Regions from separate parts of the Homo sapiens genome. Here regions 2, 3, 4, 5 and 6 are each linked to region 1. The links are contacts of gene promoters, found by promoter capture Hi-C in blood cells and fetal thymus (Javierre and others, 2016). All regions are on one chromosome and are shown on one strand. Each heading gives the region's core, a stretch centred on a gene start or on the middle of the fragment in contact. The rest is flanking DNA. Distances are from core to core; before and after follow the strand shown. Region 1 holds the start of TXNL4B (thioredoxin like 4B). Region 2 overlaps KARS1 (lysyl-tRNA synthetase 1). Region 3 overlaps ADAT1 (adenosine deaminase tRNA specific 1). Region 4 holds the start of TMEM231 (transmembrane protein 231). Region 5 has its middle 5.0 kb from the start of TMEM170A. Region 6 holds the start of CFDP1 (craniofacial development protein 1).

Region 1 (2,721 bases), core at 159-2,658:
CAGCCTGGCCAACATGGTGAAACCCCGTCTCTACTAAAAATACAAAAAATTAGCCGGGCGTGGTGGCAGATGCCACCTGTAATCCAAGCTACTCAGGAGGCTGAGGCAGGAGAATTGCTTGAACCCTGGAGGCGGAGGTTGCAGTGAGCTAGGATCGCTCCACTGCACTCCAGCCTGGGCAAGGCAACAAGAGCGAAGCTCCGTCTCCAAAAAAAAAAAAAGGAATTATTTAACTAAAATTCACATAGGAAATAAGATTGTTCCAGCTATAGGTCATACTTTAAACAGGGACATTGATGGCCCAAAGGGACGTCATCAGATGTGAGCAGCAGAACAAATTACCAATGAAAGGGAAGGTCAAAGAGAAGACGGATCTGTCCCACTAGAATTCAAACAAACAGCAGTTCCTCCGTGTTACTGATCGAAAGGAGAAAGTAAGGGGAGAACAAAGTTGTTAGTGGTGAGGCTAGGGGTGCAACTGGACAAACGTTGGAAGCAGGAGAGGAAAACTGAGACCACATCTAAGAAAATGTCCATAGTAAATGATACCCACAGAGAATTCCCAAAAGAAGACGTACAAATGGACAGTAAATAAACTAAAAAGTTAAGCTTTACCAGTAAGCAAAGAAAAGCAAATTAAAACATATGTTTACAAAGTCACTGAATTGGCAAAAATTAAACAAGATAGTGGTAGGGGCAGGCACAGGGAGTTCCTGCTGGAATGCAGACACAAAACCTTTCTGGAAAGAAAACTGACATACTCTTTGACCAATAACTCCACTGCTTTCCTCTCTCCCTCTCTTTTTCTGAGGCGGGGTTTCGCTATGTTGCCCAGGCTGGTCTCAACTCCCCAGGCTCAAGCAATCCTCCCGCCTCAGCCTCCCGAGTAGCTGGAACCTCAGGCGCGCGCCACAACTGCAGAAACACCAAAAAAAGAAAAAAAGCTTGAACTCACTTTTGTACAGAATCTTACTACAATGTATTCCAGAAAAACAACTGGAAATCAGTGGTCATCTCTGCGTGTGAACGCATGGGTGATTTTTATTTACAGCCGGGCGCGCATCTCCATTTTCCAAAATATCCGATATACATATTTAAAGTCACCTGTGTTGCGCTGCTCCTGGCCCACAAGCGCTAAGGGACCCCAGCACTTACCTTACTCGTCCACGCCGCCTCACTCCCTTTCACTTTGTGGCTGTCAGCAACCACTTCTCGGAAGAGCCCGGGCGCGGACAGCTCCTTTCATCAGCCCCAAGCCGGACAGGACCCTAAGACCAAGTCACCCAGGGGCTGTTGCCTAGCAACCCTCGTGGCCCCGCTAGCGGGAAGGAAACCGAACAGAAAACGCACAAGCGCAGAAAAGAAACTCCTGGCCGTCGGTCGGCCCCCGCTCAACAGCCCAATAAACGGAAGAGCTTCTAGTCACCGCCCACCTTGCTCGGCTCTGACCGGAAGCTAGGCGTCACCTCCGCCCGTATTAAAGATGGTCGACCTTTTTCCCCTCCTTTTCCTGCCCCCAGACTAGAGGCGGGATGTAGTCTCTTAGGCTAAGAGTGATTGGTCACAAGGAGACTCGGAAGTGTCTGATCAGAGCCCCAGAGGAGGCCTTGAGAGCCTGTTGGCGTACCGTTCCACACTTGGATCCAGGAATCGGGCGTGTTCCAGGCTGCTCTCTATGGTAGCTTTGGGCGGATAGAGGGGGCGCGCAAAGTATTAAGGGACAATAATGGCCGCTTTCAAGGTGTGGATTTTGGCTCCTTGAGCCTGTCTGAGCGAGGGGTGGCAGCGCCGGCGCCCCAGAATCCGGGACAGAAGGGTCCCAAGAGTCGCGCTTGGTGAGGTGAGAGTCCCTTCTTCCTTCCTGGCCTGCCCTTCTGTAATCATGGCGGCTCTAGGCGGCGGATATTGGTCCCCTGCTCAGGTCCGGGCCCCAGTTTGGGGAGTTCCTCTGTCGTCCCTGTCACCCACCTTGCCTTACTCACCTCAGGGATGCTGCATCCGTCCTGGCCGCCTTGGCCTTCCTCCTTGCTCTGGTCAAATCCTGCTGCCTGGAGCGGCCTCGCTGAGATCCAGGGATGCTGCCTGGAGTGGCCTTGGTCCCTCTCCCAGGCCTCCGCTTTAACCCACCCCAGACTGTCACCGAGCCCGAGTAGGACTCCTTGTGTCTTCCTCTGCTCTCTCACAGTGTCATTTATACCAGGCAATCTGGTGGGCGATCTCTTCTACTAGAATGTCAGCTCCAGGTGGGCGGGGATTTTTGTCTTGTTCTCTGTTGCTATCGCCGAGAACAGCAATTGGCTCAGGGACACCCTCAGTGAATAATTGTTGAATGAATGAATCCAGGTTCTTTCTTCCCTGGCTTTCTCGTACGCCTTGTAGTTTCTTTGCCATTAATCCTTCTCAAGAATCTTGCTCTTTAGCTCCTTATTTGTTCGTCTCAGCAGCTAATGAAGTTCTCTCTGGCTGTCTCCTTGTCCTGTGTTGCTGGAATCTTCCCTTGCTGTCTCCAGAAATGTTTGGGTTCCTGTCCTCCTTTAATAAGTTTAAATTAATTCATTTTTTAATTTATCAAACGCTTATTTTGCTAGACATTGAGCTACAGCAGTCAACAACACATCCAGTGTTCTCTCAACTGCGTAGAATGGCAGTCCAGGGTACCTTTCCTAGTTTAGACAACTATTGAGTAGAGCCTGTATATCTTTACCTTCTTGTGTGGATTTC
Region 2 (2,721 bases), core at 92-2,591, 3.6 Mb after region 1:
AGTCAACTAATTTATGTATTTTTAGTGAGACGAGGTTTCACCACGTTGGCCAGACTGGTCTCAAACTCCTTTCCTCAAGTGATCTGCCCACCTTGGCCTCCCAAAGTGCTAGGATTACAGGTGTGAGCCACCTGACCCCTCCAATGCCAGATCTAATACATGATAAGGCAACATCTCCAGCCCTCTGCTACCCCCTCTCTCTATCCCTCCCCTAAGAGTGAGTTAGGATGATAGTAAGGAAGAGCCGGCTCTTTAGCACTCAAGGAGACCTCCCCTACCAACAGTCTCTCCAAGAATGGCTGTCAGCATTAGTCTCACTTTGCCCACTGGAGCCTGACTTAGACAACAAAATAGAACGGTGTGCAAAGCAGTATAGTACAGGGGGTAATATACCATCTTTGTAGTCAGGCTGCCTGGGACTAAATTCCAACACACTTGTCAATTATGTGACTTGGACGAGTGAATTAACTTCTCACCTGTGAAACGAAAATAATAATAGACAACCCCCACCAGTTGTTATGGTGTGTAATGAGATAATGTTTGTATAAAGGGATTACCCTGACCCTGGCATTCAGCTAACCAAATGTGAGCTTTCTAGGTATCTTTTAGTATCTTAACCCTTTACTCTCTGTGCCTCATATAGATTTAAATACATTTCTGGTTAAATCACTTGGTATCCAAACTCTTGATACTTATCACTTGAACCTGAAAAACCAAAGTAATGCGGACAACTCTGAGCTGTTCTGTATGATATGTTCATGTCTCTTATAGTCTGAATTTGCTATCTGAAACCAGAAACTAAACAGATTGGTGTAGGGAGGGATATCTTTACTATTCAAAGACAATTTATGGATCATTCTTTCAAACCGCTGAACATAATCAAATATTCTGCAATAGTGAACCACAGCAGAAGATCCCAAGTCATGCCCGCAAACATTCTGGCTTCAGGACACATCCTTCATTTTCGATATGAATTTAGAATAACTTTAAAAAATGAATTGAGGTTTTGAATCTTTCACCTTTTTTTTTTTTTTTTGAGACAGAGTCTCGCTGTGTTGCCCAGGCTGGAGTGCAGTGGTGCGATCTCAGATCACTGTAAGCTCTGCCTCCCGGGTTCACACCATTTTCCTGCCTCAGCCTCCGGAGTAGCTGGGACTACAGGTGCCCGCCACCATGCCCGGCTAATTTTTTTGGTATTTTTAGTGAAGATGGGGTTTCACCGTGTTAGCCAGGATGGTCTTGATCTCCTGACCTCGTGATCTGCCTGTCTTGGCCTCCCAAAGTGCTGGGATTACAGGCGTGAGCCACCACGCCTGGCCGAATCTTTCATCTTGTAAAAAAGAAAAACAGATTCTGAATGGTTTCAAAGTTGACAGCTTTTTCTACATATAATGTCTTATAACATTTGTAAAGACAACCTTTCCAAAACACTGTGCTGGTGTTATCATGCTATAATTCAGTCAGTGGACTGCTAAGATTAGGCTGTCTAGTTCTTCTAGAATTAAGATAAATCTGTTTTCCACTCAACCAGGTGCTCCTCTTAAATCAAATCAATCTTAAGGATAATCCAAAAAGGTCCTAGGGATAGCACTAAGACTAGAAACCAAATTAATCTCAAGAGCACACAAAACTCCAGAAAGACAGAAAAGGGAAATAGCTGGCATTAGAAATTATTTGTTCAAACAAAGGTTTTGTTCTTAGCACTCTTCTAGAATAAGATCCACATGTCATCTCAAGACTCTAAGGAGAGACGATTTGAATTTATTAAAGAGAAAATGAGAAAGGACTATTGGTTTTGGTATTAGGGCTCCTTGTTTCCTTAGCAACAAGTCCAAAGACTTAGCCAGAGGCTTAACGGAAAATGAACCAAGTAAGGAAATAATTTTTGCTTCCAGAGCAATAAAGAAGGTAATGGGCACCAACCTTCTTTGATCAGAAAATGACTTGTCCTTGTGAGGCGCTGTGAAAGGAGCAAGTTGACCCAGTCGCAGTTCCCTGTGACCCCACTCTGCCCAGGAGGTTTTGCGCAGGGACCCCCTAACAAGCCTTACAGCAGCTTGCGTCAACATGGCAGAGCACCCTGGAACTAATGATTACCACCACCTAGCGGGAAACACAGAGATGTGGTGTCAGATGGGACAGACAGTATACATATACCCAACCAACTCTCTTATGGGTTGGGGAGGGGGACCATGCTTCTACTACCTTTTAGTCCCATTTAACTTAAGACTGTCTTAACTGATAGCAACCCTGTAACACTCTCTGTGCTACAACTGTAACTGACAATGTTCTTAGTCCTGACTATGGAAAAAACATGCATATCTGGGGTAAAGCCAACAGCAAGTTAATGGATAGCTTACAGGTAAAATTGCTCACAACATCCTAGAATATGGGAACAGGATGTGAGGCACTTTCTGAAGCCCTGAAGTGTGGTTTCTCACCTGGAGAGGAAATACCTGGCCACAAGATGGCAATAGGAAGCATATAAAATAAGAGGAAACTGTCACTATCAATTGCAAACTCTAGACAAAGATAAATGCAAGCCACACAAAAATACGTGTCAAAGAGAAGACTTGTTTGGAACTCTAGGAACAAGGGGAAAGGAGAATTTCAGGAAGGTCCTTAGACTGCGTTATGTTTATACATTATCAACACTGGAAGGCAACAGAATTACAGAGATCACCTTCTTTACCGTGTTCAAATAAATTTGAGGAGGCTATT
Region 3 (2,721 bases), core at 156-2,655, 3.5 Mb after region 1:
GAGACCAGCCTGGCTAACACAGTGAGACCAAATCTCTACAAAATAAAAATGAAAAAAATTAGCTGCACATAGGTGTGCATAGCTGTGCACACCTATAGTCCAGCTACTCAGGAAGCTGAAGTGGGAGGATCACTTGAGCCCAGGAGTTCAAGGCTGCAGTGAGCTATGATAGTACCACCGTACTTCAGTGAGACCCTGTCTCTTAAAAAAAAAAAAACCACTGAAACAGACAAATAAAAACCCCCAGATCTCTAAGGAATTTTCATATTCTTGTTGAGGCCCAAAGCTTCCTGTCATTCAAGATTGCTTACCAGGTGCGGTGGCTCACACCTTTAATCCCAGCACTTTGGGAGGCCAATGTGGGCAGATCACCTGAGGTCAGGAGTTCAAGACTAGCTTGGCCAGCATGGTGAAACCCCGTCTCTAAAAAAATACAAAAATTAGCTGGGCGTGATGGTGGGTGCCTGCTGAGGCAGGAGAATCGCTTAAACCCAGGAAGGGGAGGTTGCAGAGCAGTGAATCGAGATTGCCCCATTGCACTCCAGCCTGGGTGACAGAGCGAGACTCCGAGTCAAAAAAAAAAAAAAAAAAAAAGATTGCTTTCTTGGGCTTCAGAAGCCACTCAAGCTGCATCCTCTACCTGCTATAGAGTCCCAAAGCCTTCCAGACCTAATGTGGAATAGCTAAACCCAGGGACTCTGTGGTTTGAGCATGAAAATACTGGTTAACTTTCAGTTATTCGGAAAGCATGTTCCTAGAGGCCTCCGCTTTGATGGTGGATTTCCATTCTCCAAGTGAGTACGGTCCTTCCAACTGGACTGATAGTCAGTAGGAAACAAATGCCATGCACCTCAACTGACATGGCCCCTCTTCCCTGACAAGGAGAGTAAAACATGGACACTGGTTTCAAGCTAAATCTTTGTTTAGATTCCCACCCGTGCTTACCGTTCTTCCTCATTTTGGACTGTCCTATGCATTTTGTTCCTGTTCCCATTGACACAACTTCCTTTGTCACTGTGGGAAAAAAACAAATCGTGTGAGTTCTGAGAAACGGAATGTTCCCCGGTGTTCAGGTGTGATCAGCCTGCACACTCCTCTAGGGGATTCCCAGAGGCCCACTCAACCAAGGTCTGCGGTTCCAGCATGGCGGTCTCCCGCCATCAGAGGTACTGCGTCACCTAGCAGAGGACAAGCACATATGCCTAACATCGTAGTTCACACCCTACCCACGACTGTACCCTCACAGTACAGCAATGCATAATTTTACCATCTCTCACAGTGAGGAGCATGCCAAGAAGAAAAAGTCTCACCTTGCACCGGCTTATCAGGGGTGTCGCAGGCCTTGTCAGCTGGAGATTGTATCTTCACCACCGCTGCCAATAATGTCCACTCATGGTTTGGCTCAGGCTTCCCCTTCTTGGGCAGCCTGATCCCATAGTGTTCATAGCATAGCTGAGCAATCTCATCCGCGGTCCACATGGTCTGAGCTGGTATTGAGACCTTGATCAAAAACCACAACCATCAGAAGTACGGAAAGGAGAACCAGTGCACGATGCTACAGCCTCTCATATCCATGCTTCGAGTCTTTCAAATGGAGCAGACCGAGGTTTCCCTATCTGGAACTCTATGGATCATTTTCTTCTACTATCTCCCTGCCCCCTTTTCATCTTTAATGAAAGATCAAAGAAACCCCAAATTCTACCAATCCCCAAAATTATTGTTTCAAGTTTTTCTTAATGTTATATATCTGATACATTTCTAAGGAGTCTGCATCCTCTACTCAACATTAAAGGACACGAGAAGGAAATGTCCTCACTACTCCAGTTTTCACTGGAAACGGCATGTAAAGGGTTGCAGACTCACTTGCTTTGGGCAGACCCTCACTGTATAAGGTTTATCTTTCTGGACAGATGTTCTTATCTGTCTTCTTTTTCCAGGCATTTTATTTTTCTCCTTTCCCCTACAGCAGAGTGTTTCTCTACCGCCCTCTAGTAAATCCCCACTGAAATGTTTCTCAGCAGTTACGTGTTCTCATAGAGCTCTACTTAAGGGTGTGGACTTTGGATTCACCCTTTCTGGGTTCTAATTTTGGCTTTGCCACAAATTAACTGTGATGCTGAATAGACTACTTAACCTTGCTGGGTCTGTTTCCTCATCTGTCAAAATAGTGATAACAATAGTATCTAACCTATTTAGATTATTGTGAAGATTAAATAATACTTAGGGTTACTGTGAGGGTTAAATAAGTAATACTTATAAAAAGCAATTGCTACTATGTTGAGCATAATTAAGGTCAACTGTGATTACTATTACAAAAAATAACATTTGATGATTTTCCTGGTTAATTTGCCTTGAGCTACCTGGTGGTGGGGGTGAAAGGGGGAGGGCTGTAATGGGCATAGAAAGCCATGAATTAAAAAACCATCAAGCAGATCCCTAGGATACTTTGCAGGGAAATCTCTCACTCTTGGCCCTATCAATGCTCACTAGGCACATCCTGATCTCATTTGGACTCAATTATACAAAAAGCTTCCCAGTAGAAGATGAGCTTGTGATAGACATAGCTAAGCACTGTAAAACCAAACTGAAGGCCGGGCGCGGTGGCTCACCTGAGGTCAGGAGTTCGAGGCCAGCCTGGCCAACGTGGTGAAACCCTGTCTCTACTGAAAATACAAAAAAATTAGCCGGGCGTGATGGCGCGTGCCTGTAGTCCCAGCTACT
Region 4 (2,721 bases), core at 113-2,612, 3.5 Mb after region 1:
AGCGCCATGAGCACCGCTCGCAGGCACTCCGCGAGCCGGGGGACCAAGTTTGGCTTCTCCTGGTTGCCATCGCCTCGGTCTCCACGGCAACCGACGGCTCACAGAAAGGAGCCAATAGCAAGGCCGCACCGAAAGGAGCCAGTGGCGGGGGCGGGGTTAGCGGGCGTGGCGCTGCCGGGGACGGTCGGCCTAGCTTTTCGAGCTGTGTACGTTTGCGTAAAGGCTGGGCGGCGATAGAACGTTTCCGTGGACCAGAGTCGTGGCTGTTGTCTGTGTTAACATTTGTGTAAAATAAGATGCCCATAAAAGTTGACTTGAACACTGAGGAGGAAGAACTAAATATTTAAATTTCAACTGACATGGACACAAACAATGGTCACCAAGTCCCTAAACAGGTTGTGGGAGCCCCTTGAGGCGTTCATCCAGCGCTGTTTCGGAGAAATCTCTATTTCAGTCTACTCCTATACGTCAGTTATTGAAAAACAACAATCGCAAAAACAAGTTGACCTTTTTGTGTTCCTTGAGCCCAGTCGCAAAGGGCCCTCGTGACTGGGCCTCATGCTAGACAACATGTTACAAAAAGATCTAGGGTCCCAGACCACGCCAAAAAGCTTCATGAGACCTCTCCTCGTCTGTGCACTGACGAGTGGCCGGCTCTGGAGCCCAGGTCGTTGCTTCCCAGTCTGGAGGTGAATCCTCCATAGTCTGGTGAGTGTAAATATATATATATATATGTCTTTTTCCTTCTCCTCTTCCCATTGCAATTTGCTTATTATATCAATCTGCTTATTATATTAATTTGCTTATTATAATATCTGCATTGCCATTTACGTGGGATAAAGCTTGCTTACCCTTAAAGGTACTGTGTGTGTGCCTTTTCTTCTCCCCTAGCGCGTCTCCCGCACAGAACGAACACCTGCTTTTGTGTCATCTGTTAACCCCCAGTGTGGTTCCTACTGAAGTCCAGTCAGTCACAAGCCTGGCCGTGGTCCTGGACCTGGTCCTGGGCTGAGATCAAAGCCAGGTGCTTTTGCCCCCAGATTTTCTGTTGCTTCCACTATGCTCCCATGCAAGACAGACACGGAAACACAAATCCCCTGGCTCTTCCACGGATAGAGTGGAATTACTACAAAGCTCTGATGCACTTCGTTAACCCTGTGTTGGGTACAGCTCAGCCGCGAGTTTTACAGGAATATATGGTCCTCCCCAAAGATCACTGGCTTATTGCTTAATTGAATGCCTACACCCCCCCGCCACCACCCCCAACCAATATTTCTAACATGGTAGAAGGACTTTTTAAAAAAATCTATGGTCCACAGCCAATTTCTTCATCAAATGGCCCTGAATGGCTGGGCACGGTGGCTCACGCCTGTAATCCCAACACTTTGGGAGGCCAAGGTGGGCGGATCACCTGAGGTCAGGGGTTCAAGACCAGCCTGGCCAACATGGTGAACCCTCATCTCTACTAAAAATACAAAAATTAGCCAGGCATGGTGATGGGCACCTGTAATCCCAGCTACTCTGGAGGCTGAGGCAGGAGAATCGCTTGAACCCGGGAGGCACAGATTACAGTGAGCGGAGATCACACATTGGACTCCAGCCTGGGTGGCAGCGAGACTCCATCTCAAACAACAACAACAACAACAAAAAGGTCCTGAGTGGCTGAGCACAGTGGCTCATGCCTGTAGGTCCAGCTACTCGGGAGGCCTGGGCAGGAGGAAGGCTTGAGCCCAGGAGGCTGCAGTGAGCCATGAATGCACTACTGCACTCCAGGCTGGGAGACAGAAGGAGACCTTGTCTCTAAAAAAATAAATACAAAATATTTAAATATAAGTAAATTTGTTAAAGGGTCAGTAAAATGACATTTAAGTGGAAAGACATGATAAGCTTTGTGATTTGGAAAAGTCACTCTAATGACAGCATGTCAGTAGTGTAAACCAAAATGTATCTGAGACAAGTCTCAATCAACGTAGAAATTTATTTTGCCAAGGTTAAGGACATGCCTGTGACACAGCCTCAGGAGGTCCTGATGACATACGCCCAAGGTGGATAGGGTATAACTTGAGTTTATACATTTAGGGAGACATAAGACATCAATCAATACGTGTAAGATGTACATTGGTTCAGTACTGAAAGATGAGACAAGTGGAGGTGGGGTGGGGCTTCCAGACCACAGAATTGGCAGATTCAGAGATTTTTCCAATTGTCAACTGGTTATTATCTAAAGACCTGGAATCAATAGAAAGGAATGTGTGGGTTTGTGGGCGGGGCACAGTGGCTCACGCCTGTAATCCCAACACTTTGGGAGGCCAAGGCAGGCAGATCACTTGAGGTCAGGAGTTCAAGACCAGCCTGGCCAACATGGTGAAACCCTGTCTCTACCAAAAATATGTATTAAAAAAAAAAACATTAGCTGCATCTGGCGGTGTCCACCTGTAATCCCAGCTACTTGGGAGGCTGAGGCAGGAGAATTGCTTTAACCCGGGAGGCAGCAGCTGCAGTGAGCCGAGATCATACCACTGCACTTCAGCCTGGGTGACAAAGTGAGACTCCATTTCAAAAAAAAAACAAAAACAAAAAACAATAAGGGGTTGTGGAGTCTAATGTTTTATCATGCAGATGAAGCCTCCAGGCTTCAGAGAGAACAGATTGTAAATGTTTCTTATCAGACTTTAAGAGTCTGTTCTATTAATATCAGTCTTAAGATCTATGTGTTGATGC
Region 5 (2,721 bases), core at 63-2,562, 3.4 Mb after region 1:
TCACACCTGTAATTCTGGCACTTTGGGAGGCTGAAGCAGGCAAATTGTCTGAGCTCAGGAGTTCCAGACCAACCTGAGCAACATGGTGAAACCCCATCTCTACTAAAATAGAAAAAATTAACTGGGAATGGTGGTGTGTGACTGTAGTCCCAGTTACTCAGGAGGCTGAGGTAAGAGCATTGCTTGAACCCGGGAGCCACTGCACTCCAGCGTGGGCAACAAAGCCAGACTCCATCTCAAAAAGAAAAAAGGCCGGGCGTGGTGGCTCACACCTGTAATCCCAGCACTTTGGGAGGCAGAGACGGGCGGATCACGAGGTCAGGAGATCGAGACCATCCCTGGCTAACACGGTGAAACCCCGTCTCTACTGAAAATACAAAAAAATTAGCCGGGCGTGGTGGCAGGTGCCTGTAGTCTCAACTACTCGGGAGGCTGAGGCAGGAGAATGGTGTGAACCCAGGAGGTGGAGCTTGCAGTGAGCTGAGATTGCGCCACTGCACTCAATCCTGGGCGACAGAGCGAGACTCCGTCTCAAAAAAAAAAAAAAAAAAAAAAAGAAACAGAAGTCTCTCTTGAAACCTCCGTTTAGGAAGCTTCCTCCTGCCAGTTCCCTACCACTACAATTGGCGTTTTGCATCAACCAAGAAACCTATCTAAAATAAAAATAGGAAGTATAAAAAGGGTCAGGAAATACTGACCTTTTAACCATGCTGTCTTTTTGGTACATTTCCCAGACTAGCAGAGTCTATTAGAAGTGGAAGAAACCGCTGGGCGTGGTGGCTCATGCCTGTAATCCCAGCACTTTGGGAGGCTGCGGCGGGTGGATCACGAGGTCAGGAGTTTGAGACCAACCTGACCAACATGGTGAAACCCCGTCTTTACTAAAAATACAAAAATTAGCCGGGCATGGTGGCATGTGCCTGTAATCCCAGCTACTCAGGAGGCTGAGGCAGGAGAATTGCTTGAACCTGGGAGGTGGAGGTTGCGGTGAGCCGAGATCGCACCATTGCACTCCAACCTGGGCGACAGAGCAAGACTCTGTCTCAAAAAAAAAAAAAAAAAAAGAAAAAGGGCCAGGTGTGGTAGGTCACACCTGTAATCCCAGCACTTTGGGAGGCCGAGGCAGGCAGATCACGAGGTCAGGAGTTCCAGAACAGCCTGACCAACATGGTGAAACCCCATCTCTACTAAAAATACAAAAATTAGCCGGGCCTGGTGGCATGCGCCTGTAATCCCAGCTACTTGGGAGGCTGAGACAGGAGAATTACTTGAACCCGGGAGGCAGAGGTTGCAGGAGCCGAGATCGTGCCATTGCACTCCAGTCTGGGCAACAAAATGAGACTCTGTCTCAAAAAAAAAAAAAAAAAAAAAAAATCAGCTGGGCGTGGTGGTGGGCGCCTGTAATCCCAGCTACCGGAGAGGCTGAGGCAGGAGAATGGCGTGAACCCGGGAGGTGGAGCTTGCAGTGAGCAGAGATCGCGCCACTGCACTCCAGCCTGGGCAACAGAGCGAGACTCCGTCTCAAAAAAAAAAAAAAAAAAAAGTGGAAGAAATCAATTATTGTAGGGTTACATAATCAATTATGTATTACATTAGGAAACATTATTTTGAATTTAGAATTCGATCTTTAGTTCATTTATGAATTGACAGGTTAAAAAAAGACATTTAGCCTTGCAGGACTCAGAAAATGGAGGTTTCCTGGGCCCTGTCTAAGGAAGCCAAGGAGGCGGTCCAGCACACCAGACCCCCTGGCCCCTTGCTGCTCTTTCAACAAGCCAGATGCCTCCCCTCCTTAGGGCTTTTGTGTTAGCTCTTTCCTGCTCCCAGACAGGCTACCCATGATTGCCCTTAACATACTCCCTCACCTCCTGTAAGACTTTCCTCAAATGTCGCTTTCTCACTGAGACCTACCCTGATCACCCCATTAAAAATTACAACTCACACCTCTACACACATATATTCCTCATCCCCCGATCCTTCTCTACTTTAATCCTTGGCACTTTCTAATATGCTAAATAATGTAGCCATTTATTAAGCTTATTCATCAGCTATCTCCCCACCATCAGAATGCAAGTTCCTGAAGGGCAGGGTTGTTGTTGTTGTTGTTTGAGAGAGTCACACTCTATCGCCCAGGCTGGAGTGCAGTGGCGCGATCTCAGCTCACTGCAACCTCCGCCTCCCAGGTTTAAGCGATTCTCCTGCCTCAGCCTCCTGATTAGCTGGGATTACAAGCGTGCACCACCACCACCACGCCTGGCTAATTTTTGTATTTTTAGTAGAGATGGGGTTTCACCATGTTGGCCAGGCTGGTCTCGAACTCCTGACCTCATGATCTGCCTGCCTCGGCCTCCCAAAGTGCTGGGATTACAGGCGTGAGCCACTGCGCCTGGCTGGTTTTTGTTTTGTTTTGTTTTGTTTTGTTTGTTTTTGAGATGGAGTCTCGCTCTGTCGCCCAGGTTGGAGTCCTTTGGCGCCATCTCGGCTCAATTCAACCTCCGCCTCCCGGGTTCAAGCAATTCTCCTGCCTCAGCCTCCTGAGTAGCTGGGACTACAGGTGCATGCCACGATGCCCAGCTAATTTTTATATTTTTAGTAGAGACTGGGTTTCACCATATGGGTCAGGCTGGTCTTGAACTCCTGACCTCAGGTGATCCACCTGCCTCGGCCTCACTAAGGGCTGAGATTAGAGGTGTGAACCACTGCACCCAGCCTAGGGCAGGG
Region 6 (2,721 bases), core at 62-2,561, 3.3 Mb after region 1:
GAGCCACCGCGCCAGGAATGGAATGGCTAGTTTTCAACGTGCCTTTTAGAAATACTTCACTAGCCGGGGCGCGGTGGCTCATGCCTGTAATCCCAGCACTTTGGGTGGCTGAGGTGGGAGGATCACTTGAGCCCACGAGTTCGAGACCAGCCTGGGCAACATAGCAAGATGCCATTTCTAAAAAAAAAAAAAAAAAAAAAAATTTAAAAAATTAGCGGGCGTGGCAGCCTGCACCTGCAGTCCCAGCTACTCCAGAGGCTGAGACGGGAGGATCGCTTGAGCCCAGGAGTCTGAGGTTGCAGTGAGCCAAGATCGCATCACTGCACTCCAGCCTAGACAACAGCAAGACCCTGTCTTTAAATAAAACAGAACAGAACAAAGTAAAACAAAGAGAATAGGGACGACTCCTGGGTTGTGTTTTGTTAGTCTGTTTGTTTCTTGTTTGTCTAGTCTTTCAACTGAAGATGTGAATGGGTGAAGATACTTTCAACGAGACGGTTTGTCTGGGGAAGACCAAGAAGGGGGAACAGAAAGATTTCTTCAGTAAGATTCATTCTCACCCCGTTCGGGTTGAGATCCCTAAGGAAAGAAAGTTCTGAGAGGAGAGGATGGGTGGACGTCACAATGAGGCAAAAAGCATCAAAGGGGGAACTTTCTATCAGAACTTTCTAACAACCAGGCGGAGAGCGGACAGCTCTATCTTGGACGGGGTGGTGGCCAGCAGCTCTCTCGGGCCAGGGCTGAAAAAAACCTCCAAGGCTCGGACTGCCGCCCCGACTTCTGAAGCAGCGGTGTCGTTCGGGGCTGACCGACGAGCGTCCCTAGCGACAAGGGGCCGTGTCCATGTGCCGGTTCCCGCGCTGCAAGAGGGGGCGGCGGCCGGAGCTGCCCAACGGGAGGGGAGCACAGAACCGCCACGCGCACACGCCTCGGGCCGGAGCGGCCGAGGATGAGGGGCCTGAGGGAGCGGACGCTCGAGAACAGGAGCCCCCCTGGACCACCTGGGCCACAGGGCAGACGCCCGCGGGGGCAGAGCGCGCCTCACGTGAGGCGTGGGGCGGGGCAATTCGCTTCTCGCCTCAGGCGGAATCGCTCACCCGACGGCACGTAGTCCTCGTCCTCCTCCGACGTAGAGAAGTCTTCGGAGTCGAATTCCTCCATGTTGCTGCCGCTCGACGCTGGTCAAACTCACAAGACCGCAGCAGCCGCCTCCAACGGCAAAGCTCTAGGGAGAGACCATAGAGCCCCGGCGGCGGCGACGGCAGCTAGGGCGGCCCCCGACAGCGCTTTGCACATGCGCAGAGAGTACTACGTGGTTGCCCTACGACACTTCCGGCCGATGCCTCCGGGCTGGCGTCCCTGAAGCCCTCGCTGGGAGCCCGAACCCGCCCGGACGCGGTGCATGCTGGAACTTGTAGTCTTCGGCGCTGCCTCGCCGCCTTAATATAATAAACCTGCTTAAATAAAATTACATATCTATGGAAATACAGGTGACCTTCATTAATCATTAATTCGTAATGCCAAATTCACTTACTTGCTAAAATGTATTTGTAACCCTAAAATCAATCATCACGGTACTGTCTGGGGTTCTTCCCGGGCATGCGCAGAGGGTGAAAATTTGGAGTTGGCGGAGGTAAGGTTCCCAGCTGAAGTTTGAACTGGGAGAAGCGCCGCCTTCTAGTCGCAGCTCCTGTGCTGTAAACAAAGAGTCCTTTCCGCAGTCTGTTTACTGACACTTTTTTTTCTGCTTTTTGTGGGTGGTTTTGCTTTCTAAAATGGCCCCCAAGCGTAGTGCTTAAGCTCTGCCCAGTGTTCCTAAGCGAAAGAAGACCGTGATGTGCCTTACGGAGAAAGTCCGCGTGTTGGATAAGCTCCAATCAGGCATGAGTTACAGTGCTGTTGGCCATGAGCTCAATGTTAACGAGTCGACAATCCGGTACATCAAGAAAAAGGAAAAGGAAATTCACCGATCTGTCCGTGAGGCCGCTCCGGATAGTGCTGAAGTGACCTCCATCGTGCGTGATGAAGCTATGACAAAGATGGAAAAGATGGAAAAGCGGCTAAATTTGTGGATTCATGAGATGTCAATCGATTAAAAAAAACATAGTGGACAGCATTGTGGTGAGGCTGAAAGCCAAAGATATCTGTGGTCACGTTACCCAGAGTCAAAGAAATGCTAAGCCCTTCTCGGCGAGTGCTGGCCGGCTCGCGCGTTTCAAAAGGCGATACGGGGTGAAAAATGTTAAACTTGCAGGTGAGGCGAGCTCTGCAGATCAGGAGGCTGCGGAAGAATTTTAAAAATACTTGCTAAGTGTTATACAGGAAAAGGGTTATGTGAAAGAGCAGGTTTTCAATGCGGATGAGACTGGCTTATTTTACAAGGATGTTGGCAAACGAACCTATATAATGCAAACGGCCTCCAAAGCCCCTGGCTTTAAATCATGCCAGGATCATGCACCCTTGTTATTGTGCGCCAATGCCAAGAGCGACTAAAGTGCAAACTCCTAATGGTGTAAAGAACCCAAAATCCACAAGCACTTAACGGGAAATACGTGAACCATCTGCCAGTCTATTGGAGGTGGAACAAAAAAGTGTGGATGATGTCTGATTGGTTCCACAACTGCTTCATCCCAGAAGCTGAACACTGTCTCCAGGGCAGAAACCTTGCCTTCAAGGGTTTTTTGTTTTGTTTTGTTTTGTTTTTTGTTTGTTTGGGTTTGT

Evidence for each region. The method cuts DNA at HindIII sites, captures the fragments that hold promoters and counts their contacts. A CHiCAGO score of 5 or more calls a contact.
Region 2: a fragment that was not itself captured here is called in contact with the fragment with the promoter of TXNL4B in region 1 in 1 of 17 cell types (activated CD4 T cells); the score reaches 5.8 in activated CD4 T cells.
Region 3: a fragment that was not itself captured here is called in contact with the fragment with the promoter of TXNL4B in region 1 in 1 of 17 cell types (non-activated CD4 T cells); the score reaches 6.6 in non-activated CD4 T cells.
Region 4: a fragment that was not itself captured here is called in contact with the fragment with the promoter of TXNL4B in region 1 in 3 of 17 cell types (non-activated CD4 T cells, activated CD4 T cells and naive CD8 T cells); the score reaches 7.2 in non-activated CD4 T cells.
Region 5: a contact is called between a fragment that was not itself captured here and the fragment with the promoter of TXNL4B in region 1, in 2 of 17 cell types (activated CD4 T cells and total CD4 T cells). The highest score is 6.4, in activated CD4 T cells.
Region 6: a contact is called between the fragment with the promoter of CFDP1 here and the fragment with the promoter of TXNL4B in region 1, in 1 of 17 cell types (non-activated CD4 T cells). The highest score is 10.1, in non-activated CD4 T cells.

What each region holds. Positions count from the first base shown.
Region 1 is chr16:72,092,212-72,094,932 of GRCh38, forward strand. TXNL4B (thioredoxin like 4B) reads right to left here and starts at 1,409. Exons shown (of 4, transcript NM_017853.3): 1 at 1,156-1,409. DHX38 (DEAH-box helicase 38) reads left to right here and starts at 1,636. Exons shown (of 27, transcript NM_014003.4): 1 at 1,636-1,840. RefSeq lists enhancers at 1,182-1,511, 1,522-1,571, 1,632-1,931. The HindIII fragment of the contact is 4,501 bases long and covers 943-2,721 here.
Region 2 is chr16:75,642,360-75,645,080 of GRCh38, forward strand. The region is part of intron 1 of KARS1 (lysyl-tRNA synthetase 1); the gene reads right to left. Among named protein-coding and RNA genes, the nearest start is that of KARS1, 3.9 kb to the right of the region's middle. The HindIII fragment of the contact is 3,555 bases long and covers 1-2,721 here.
Region 3 is chr16:75,619,321-75,622,041 of GRCh38, forward strand. It overlaps ADAT1 (adenosine deaminase tRNA specific 1), which reads right to left. Exons shown (of 10, transcript NM_001324445.2): 2 at 1,311-1,500; 3 at 946-1,014. The coding sequence starts at 1,479. Among named protein-coding and RNA genes, the nearest start is that of ADAT1, 2.6 kb to the right of the region's middle. RefSeq lists a silencer at 1,831-2,125 and enhancers at 2,194-2,714, 2,715-2,721. The HindIII fragment of the contact is 2,243 bases long and covers 285-2,527 here.
Region 4 is chr16:75,556,202-75,558,922 of GRCh38, forward strand. It overlaps TMEM231 (transmembrane protein 231), which reads right to left and starts at 51. Exons shown (of 7, transcript NM_001077418.3): 1 at 1-51. The coding sequence starts at 8. RefSeq lists a silencer at 112-221 and enhancers at 262-341, 372-481. The HindIII fragment of the contact is 1,045 bases long and covers 841-1,885 here.
Region 5 is chr16:75,468,373-75,471,093 of GRCh38, forward strand. No RefSeq gene overlaps it. Among named protein-coding and RNA genes, the nearest start is that of TMEM170A, 5.0 kb to the left of the region's middle. The HindIII fragment of the contact is 1,443 bases long and covers 592-2,034 here.
Region 6 is chr16:75,432,192-75,434,912 of GRCh38, forward strand. CFDP1 (craniofacial development protein 1) reads right to left here and starts at 1,312. Exons shown (of 7, transcript NM_006324.3): 1 at 1,098-1,312. The coding sequence starts at 1,161. RefSeq lists a silencer at 748-987 and enhancers at 1,298-1,807, 1,351-1,918. The HindIII fragment of the contact is 10,360 bases long and covers 1-2,721 here.